Regions from separate parts of the Homo sapiens genome. Here region 1 is linked to region 2. Evidence: promoter capture Hi-C in 16 types of primary human blood cells and fetal thymus (Javierre and others, 2016). All regions are on one chromosome and are shown on one strand. The core of a region is centred on a gene start or on the middle of the fragment in contact, and the rest is flanking DNA. Distances in the headings are between cores, read along the strand shown.

What was found. The method cuts DNA at HindIII sites, captures the fragments that hold promoters and counts their contacts. A CHiCAGO score of 5 or more calls a contact.
Region 1: a contact is called between a fragment that was not itself captured here and the fragment with the promoter of ETV5-AS1 in region 2, in 3 of 17 cell types (M1 macrophages, M0 macrophages and megakaryocytes). The highest score is 8.2, in M1 macrophages.

What each region holds. Positions count from the first base shown.
Region 1 is chr3:186,227,440-186,231,759 of GRCh38, reverse strand. All of the region lies in intron 20 of DGKG (diacylglycerol kinase gamma), which reads left to right. Among named protein-coding and RNA genes, the nearest start is that of ETV5, 120 kb to the right of the region's middle. The HindIII fragment of the contact is 2,234 bases long and covers 1,897-4,130 here.
Region 2 is chr3:186,076,537-186,080,832 of GRCh38, reverse strand. It overlaps ETV5-AS1 (ETV5 antisense RNA 1), which reads right to left and starts at 1,663. Exons shown (of 2, transcript NR_046594.1): 1 at 1,492-1,663; 2 at 1-273. It overlaps ETV5 (ETS variant transcription factor 5), which reads left to right. Exons shown (of 13, transcript NM_004454.3): 7 at 729-1,016. LOC124909470 (a long non-coding RNA gene) reads left to right here and starts at 1,024. Exons shown (of 2, transcript XR_007096205.1): 1 at 1,024-1,801; 2 at 2,619-4,011. RefSeq lists a silencer at 3,071-3,266. The HindIII fragment of the contact is 3,249 bases long and covers 228-3,476 here.

The DNA.
Region 1 (4,320 bases), core at 1,764-4,263, 150 kb before region 2:
TTTAGTAGAGAGCGGGTTTCACCATGTTGGCCAGGCTGGTCTCAAACTCCTGACCTCAGTTGATCCAACCACCTAGGCTTCCCAAAGTGCTGGGATTACAGGCGTGAGTGACCACACCTGGCCTAGTATAGTTTTTAAAGCATGAATAACCATGAGCTCATTTATTAAAGTGTTTAGAAAGGTGGTTTTCCCAATGTAATCAGTCCTGCTCCAACCCATACCAACAATAGTAGCCATCATTTATTGAGAGCTTTCAAGAATCTCATGTACATTATTTTTAAGTGGCACAACTCACCAAGTGTAAGTATTATTGATCCATCTTACAGATGAGAAAAGTGAGGCTCATAGAGATGATGCAACTTGCTCAAGACCACACTAGTTACTAGAGAAGCTACGATTCACACCTAGGCCTGTCCACTCCACATCTCCTCTTAGCCTGCTACAATTCCCTGCCTCTCCATGTGCCCAGTTTTGTGCCCCATGACCAAAGATGCACCCAAAAAAAGACTAGAAAAGAGCCATAGATATGATTAAAGGGCCCATGAGAAAACCACAAGTTATCCAAAATCACTTTTCCTGGAGAGAAACAGAGAACGTACTGGGAATGGGCCTCAAGTGTGTGAAGGATTCACAACAGGAAATAGTGACTGCACCTCCTTACTCTTCATCTCAGTTCAGGAAAGAATGAGAGAGGGAAAAAATGTGCTCTAAAAGTAAAGAATTCTCTTTTGGATGGGAGCAGGAATCTTCTGGCCTGGAGACATATTAAAGACTGAAATGAGTTATTGAGAGTAGTTTTGGAATCTCTTGCAAAGGCTTCCAAAAACAGAGAGTTGCATTCATCCAGGATGATAAACACACCACCTTCTCTGAGCCCAGCAGTGTACTCATTGCACCCACCAGGTCCCCACCCAGATGGGAGCTTTCTGCCTCCCACTCCACAACTGACCAAGCTGCACAGTTTAATTGCACAATTTTATTTACTTGTGAGACCGCTTGCCTCCTGTGCTCCTCACTTCCCAGTTGGTCCCCAAGATGTTCCATCCTCAGGATTTCCTCAGCCACCCTCTGGCCCATCTCGATGCCCTTCCCATTCAGGCCCACCCTGCCTGGAGCTGCCCATTAGTCTCCCTGGGACACGTTTGTGGTCCTGTTGCTGCTGCACAAGCACCTACTTCCACCACCCCCCTCCCACGTTACATCCCATGCTTGCATTTAGCGCCCTTTATAACATTCTCCTCCTCAAACACCAGCCTCACCTTCTTGCTTGCTTGCTCTGTTACTCTCACCTTCCCCACACAGCTGCTCTCATTCCCTCAATCCCTCAACCTAGATGACATCTCCTCTTGTGACCTAGTCATCACTTGTTTCAAAATGCAGCACAGAATATTCTGAACGAACCTACTTAACCAACCCATTTGGTACTCCACTTTCTCTTACACTCCATCTCCAATGTTTTGTTGTTGTTGTTGTTTTGTTTGTTTGTTTGTTTGTTTGTTTTTGAGACGGAGTCTCGCTCTGTTGCCCAGGCTGGAGTGCAGTGGCGTGATCTCGGCTCACTGCAGCCTCCACCTCCTGGGTTCAAGCAATGCTCCTGCCTCAGCCTCCCAAGTAGCTGGGACTACAGGCGCCCGCCACCACACCCGGCTAATTTTTTTATTTTTAGTAGAGACGGGATTTCACCATGTTGGCCAGGATGGTCTTGATCTCCTGACCTCGTGATCCGCCCGCCTCGGCCTCCCAAAGTGCTGAGATTACAGGCGTGAGCCACCGCGCCCAGCCCATCTCCAGTGTTTTTGACACATTCTGTCCCACTTTGCTGCACCCTCTTTGTCTTCTATAATTCATTGTTTGGGATGCTAAACTACTGTTATGTCTCCAACTTGTTCATAAGCTTTCTCACTCGGAGAGGAGTCTGACTCTCTTCAGGATCCACTGAACTAAATCCAGAAGGGTGATGCTAAGCATGTTTCTTCATTCAGCCAAAATGAGTTGAGCATCTATTTGTGTTAGCATCATGCTAGGTCTGAGAGGAACGATGGAGCACCACAGCCCCTGCTTTTCAGGAGTTCGTGGGTATAACTGGGAAGATGAGCACATACAGAAGTTAATACCAACTATATCAGTGTCCTGGGCTGCCATAACAAAGCACCACAGCTGGGTGGTTTAGAACAGCAGAAATGTATTCGCTCGTAGCTCTAAAAGCTGCATGTCTGGCCTGGCGCAGTGGCTCATGCCTGTAATCCCAGCACTTTGGGAGGCAGAGGCAGGCGGATCACTTGAGGTCAGGTGTTCAAGACCAGCCTGGCCAACATGGTGAAACCCCGTCTCTACTAAAAACACAAAAATTAGCCGGGCATGGTGGCGGGTGGGCACCTGTAATCCCAGCTACTTGGGAGGCTGAGGCATGCGAATCACTTGAACCCGGGAGGCGGAGGTTGCAGTGAGCCGAGATCATGCCACTGCACTCCAGCCTGGGTGACAGAATGAGACTCCATCTAAAAAAAAAAAAAAGCTACAAGTCTGAAGGATGTCAGCAGGGTTGATTCCTTCCCCAGGCTCTGAGAGAGAATGATTTTCTGTGCCTCTCTCCTTGCTTCTAGAGGTTGCCGCCAGTCTGACATCCTTAGCTTGTAGATGTATCAGTCACGCAAATCTTTGCCTCCATCATCACACGGCCTTCTCCCTCTGTATCTGTGTCTCTGTTCAAATCTCCTTCTTCTTATAAGGACGTCAGTCACTGGATTGGACCCACCCTAACCCGGTATAACCTCATTTTAACTTGATGACATCTGCGAAGACCCTATTTCCAAATAAGGTCACATTCACAGGTATAGAGAGTGAGGACTTTAGCATATCATTTTTGGGGGGGACACAATTCAGCCCACAGCATCAGTCTTCCCCCAGACCTTCACACAAGAAGGAAATACAATGTAATATGGTAGCTTTGTTTTCACGAAGGGACGTGAACAATGAGGGTGTTGTGAGAGACTAGGATGAAACTTCAGGAGGAAGGTAACATTTGCATGAGCGCTGGAGACAGAAATGGAAATTCGCCAAGGAGAGAAGCAACCGGGGAAATGCTAGGAGGAGGGAAGCAGTATGGGAGAAGGGCTGAAGTGTGAGAGGACACTGGACATGAGCGGAGAGGCCGGAGGTTCCCGGGTGGAGTGAAAAGGCGGGGGGAGCAGTTGCAGCAGATCTCGCTGGTCTGCACCAGAGTTTGCATCTTATCCTAGGAGTGGGTGAGTGGACAGTGAGGGTATCCATCAGTAAGTGCTTTTTGAACAGATTAATGAAGGAATGGCTTACCTTTCAAAGTATTTGTGGAGCAAAAATTTCAGGGCTCCTAGAAACACTGGGACTTTAAAATACTGAACCTTGCTGAAGTGTTAGAATAGTACAGACAGAGTGTTAGTCAGAAAGACCCAGAAAAGAGGCAATCCCCAGGGGGAGAGAGAAGGAAGAGGGGCATCAGGAGAGAGGAGAAGGAGCCAACTCTGCTGCCCTGGAGGAGTCAGTACACATCAGGGCTGGAAAAACTATGGAAACCAACGACAGAGCTTTCTTATAAACCTTGAGCTTTAAAGCATGCTATTTGGTTGTGAAGTAGAAATCCATATTGAAAAAAAGAATCCGCATGTCATTCTCTCTTCCTCACCACCACAATTTCAGATGCCTTCAGGGAGAGGGCAACTTAGGTGGCTTTTAAAGTTAGTTTAACATGTCTCTTTGTTTGTTTTTAGCTCCAGAAAAAATAATGTCAGAGTTTGTTGGCCTTCTATTGTACTTTACTAATTAAAACTTCAGAAAATTGTTGCCCTTTTGCATAAGAGTATTTTTGGAAAATTATTGCCCTTTTGCATAAGGGTATTTTGGTGATACAACAGAGTCTGTATCTGTATTTACGGCTGATGTGATTAGCATATTCAGTCGCCCATATTTTCTTTAAACTTTTCATAATTGCATGCGTTTTATTATGAAGAAATTGAAAAACAAGGTGAAAAGGTAATAGATGTTCTCAAAAAAGATTCAAGTGATTAATTTTAACTCCCCACTTAAATCAACATTTACTAAAAAACGTTGTAATGCACTTATTATTGGGCCAAAGGAAATTTCAAAAGCAAGCTTTCACTGTACTTATCAGGAAACGCAGTAACTCTCTTCTGTGAAATAATTTACTTATTTCACAGTAAATTATTTCACAGAAACCCTGAACAAATGGCTTTACAACTCTGCTATGCCAGGTCGTGGTCACCCTCATGTGAAATACAGACACAAATTCCTGAGTTTCATTGCATTCAGCATCAAAAGAACTGA
Region 2 (4,296 bases), core at 414-2,913:
TACAGAGCACTAAGTTCATAGGGTACCCAGTCCTTCTAGGGAAAGAGTCTCAATCCTGGGATACTTGATCTGTGGCTTTGAGGCAGGTAATATATACTTCTTCATGTCTATCATATGTTAATGTGAACTTTAAGCACCAGAGAAGTAATCTCCAAATCAGAATATATGAAAAAGTCTTGAAGCTTGTGCCCTTTACTTAAGAATATCCAGGCCCCAGGAATGAAGCTTTAATTTTAAATCATTCTTTGCTCTAGAAGATAAACATAGATTTGCCTGAAAGGGGGAGGAGAAGAGTTGTTAATTCAAATGATGTCACAGCACAAACAGACCTTCAACACATATTCTGACTAATTCCTGGGAACCCTGGAAATAGTTGGGAGAGGGGACCAGAGAACACCTGGCAAACATACATTCTCCCCTCACCCACCCACCCTACACAGGCATACACGGAGAATTCTTTTAGAAGGAGGGAAAAAGGAAACCGGAAGCAGAGGCTAAAATTATCCTTGAGAAAAATCACTAGAAGTGTTAAACAAGTCCCTGTGACGCAGTGTGTTTGTCACTTTTCAGAGGTACAAATATCCCCTCGGGGCTACGAGCGATTTAACTATGTTAATGCTGTTATTTCCTGGCAACAATGGGCTGCAAACTAGCTTTCTGCTGGACCTGGTAACCATGCTAATGGCTTCATTTCAGCTTAATGGTTCCTTCTCTTTTTCTGTTTACAGTGCCTATGATAGGAAGCCTCCCTCTGGGTTCAAGCCATTAACCCCTCCTACAACCCCCCTCTCACCCACCCATCAGAATCCCCTATTTCCCCCACCTCAGGCAACTCTGCCCACCTCAGGGCATGCCCCTGCAGCTGGCCCAGTTCAAGGTGTGGGCCCCGCCCCCGCCCCCCATTCGCTTCCAGAGCCTGGACCACAGCAGCAAACATTTGCGGTCCCCCGACCACCACATCAGCCCCTGCAGATGCCAAAGATGATGCCTGAAAACCAGTATCCATCAGAACAGAGGTGGGTGTTGATCTGGGCTTCTTCCTTAATTGTCTCCCTCACTCCTATCCTTTCTCACTGGGAGAGGGGAAGCAGTTTGTCTTATTTACCAGGTTCCTAAAAAGTTATCATTACATTGAGGCAGCTTGTGAGGCAAGACTAATGATAATACGAATATGACTGTTTATATACCACCCTGTTCCCAAGGTACTCCAGATGGTTGATGGACTACGACATCCTTATAAAGTAGGTAAGGGAGAGGTAACTGGTATTCTCCCGTCTCACAGAACTAGAGGAAGAATGACTTGCCAGGATAGTCTTGTCCCTCACTGAGGGCAGGTTCCTGACTCCTCATTGGATGCTGCCTACTATTAATAGAATTGAACTTCAGTTATTACCATTTCACTTACATATAAGGGACAATTGCTGATTTATACAAGGTAATATTACTTATCTGATTTTAACATGTTTTAACAGTAGGAGATTAGCTAAGGACCTTATTTGTACATCTGCTTTTGAAATAGAAATCTCCTGGTTACACTGCAGGTGGTTTTTACATTTCTACAGGCATTGAGGCATCAGGAGTAACTTGTCCAGAGTCATTCATTTGTCAAAAAAGTGTGTGAAGGGAACCTTCTCTGCACACTCCAAACCTGACCTCTTTATCTGTGGTATTCTAGAATCTCGGATGCTTGTGGCCTTCTTTTATAGAAGATGTGCTGGGGGCCTGTCTTTATTTCAAGTTTCTCTGGGATAGGGGGGTAGTTGTCAACAATATTACCAAAGGATGCAAGATGGTGGCCATGGTATTTCATATCTATCTATCTTGTGTTAGGTGGATCGGTGTGGGGGCCACAATGGGGCGGGAGTGGGAAGAATATATGAGTATACCTTTCCCAGGCCTGGTCCATTCCAGATGCCTACCAGTATTTACTTGGAGGTCATTTTATTTCTAGATGAAATGCAGGGGAAAAAATAAGGTCCCTTTGTCTGGTTCTGATCCCCTTCCCGTTTTGCTCTGAAAGTCACCATTAAGAACGGCAAAATATGGCTGGTTGCTGTTTATTCCTTGGTTAGGCCAAGGAACACGAACGCCTGTGTTACACAGGGCTCAAGGGGTGAGCACTGACGGGGTTGTGGGGGGCTGGCTCTGGAGTGGGCCTCTATTGCCACCGGGGACTCATCTGGAGGACACAGCTGCCGCTGAGCTTTTGGCAATTGTTACCTTGTACTAACAACCTGTACTTGTGCAGAAGAATTTGGTTACTTGGTTTTTTATGTAAAAATTGTAGACTTTTTTTTTTAAGTTGGCAACTAATTCAAATTAAAAACAACACCTCTGCAGACTAAACAAAACTTCTCTGGGCAAAATCACCCTGCAGGCCTGCCAATTTGTGAACTCTGGCCTAGATATCATTTTTATTTCAATGGTTTTTTGGTGTTTTTAAACAGCATCTTGCTGATTTTCTGCAAGGGTTATGGGGAAATTGGGGAGGAAGTGTGGGGTCGAGTATATATTCAGTATTTGAAACTCTTAGCAAACTTCTATTTGTTATACCATGAACTGTAAAAGAAAATTCCTTTATCTAATATTTCCCCCTCAATCCTTGTTTTTTATCCAAGGGGCTTATGTAACATACTGTATTAACAGTTAACTGAGTTGGGAGACAAATATCCTAGTTCTCCTGGAGAATTGGGAGATGGGTAGCCCCAGTCTCAGCTGTGAAATAAGCCTGTCTCCAGTCCACCCAGCCCCCTGAGAAGGAAGGAGTTTTGGATTCCTGGGATTGATGAGTTATTTGCCCGTGGGTGTTGAAAGGAAGAGAGGAGGGAACCAGAATGCAGGTATTTCTTTTCTTGGGTGATTCCTCCTTGAAGTCTGCCTGTGCATTTTGGACTTACTTCTTGTTATACTCTGCCTTTGAGACTGATGGGTCTAAAATTCAAAGCTCTCACACACACACTGGGGTGATACAGAGATCCTTGAGGTAATTGAGGTGAAGGGGGAGGAATTCTGTAGGTGACCAAATCGATTACAAACAACACTGGGCACTTGGATTTCCACTCAAGAGTGCTGTCCTCTCAAAGTTGAAAGTGCACAGGAGTCCCCATGGGAGTGTGGAGCGGGGATTTTCAATGCAGAGTCCTTGTTAACATTCAGAGATAGAGTGTGTGGGCCTGGGGCGGGGCCTGGATATAGTCTTGTCACACTTTGAGAAATTGTGATCCAGCTCTCTCTACCCTCATCCTTATTCCACCCTACCTTTATTTAAAGCATGTATTACCAAATTCTATTCCTACTGCCTTTGTCTATTAATATGGTCATCCACGTGATATCTATGTGACATAAAACGCATCAAAAACGTGACAGTGATTTTTCTTCTAGATACTGGATAGTACACAGAAAATGAGACAGACCAAAATCCCTGGTTTGATATTTGTAAAAGTAATAGAAATTACAGTCATGGATAATATCAAGCTTCATAATCACATATTTAATAACTTTTATGCCTGCCCAAAAGTGGGGCAGATTACTTTTATTGGTGACTATAGGTTGTCTCTTGGCTTAGAACTTTTTATTAAGATTAGAGGGACTATTACTTCAAAACGAAATCCCTAATACAAATATATGGTATTTTGCATGATAGAAGTAAAGAGAGTCTCATTTGAAACTTTTAACCGCCCTGTGACATAGGCAGAGTGAAAAAACCCATTTTATAGGTTAGAAATCAAGCCTCAGCACAGTTAAAGGACTTTCTAAAGCTCACATAGCCAAATACAGGGTCCTACATTCAGCAACCAAAAACTTCCATGACGTGTAATTACGCCATTTGTTTCAGTTATGATTTTATTTGGGCTGCTAACATCCACTAATGTCTACTATAAAAACTGAGTAATTGACCTTGATAAATTTGTTTTGACCTTGAACATTATCTGTTTTTTTATTATACTTTTAAGTTCTATCTATCTCTTCAACTACAAAATCTTAATAAATTCCTACATCATTTAATCCAAACCCATGTGCTTAACATGTGTCTTTTTTGTTTTGCTGGGTGTGCCGTATCTGTTCAGTTGAATAGAGTAAGCTCTTTGAGGATAAAAACCTGTGATTTAGACTCCTTTCTTTAGGCCACATTTAGCCTTGTACCTTATTTGTCCTCAGTATATGTTTATTGATAGTGATAAAAGTTTGCTAAAATTATACCGTAAATAGCTAAAATGTAATCTAGTCAAAAGTACACCCTTGCCACACATGGCGGCACACACCTGTAGTCCCAGTTACTTGAGAGGCTGAGGTGGG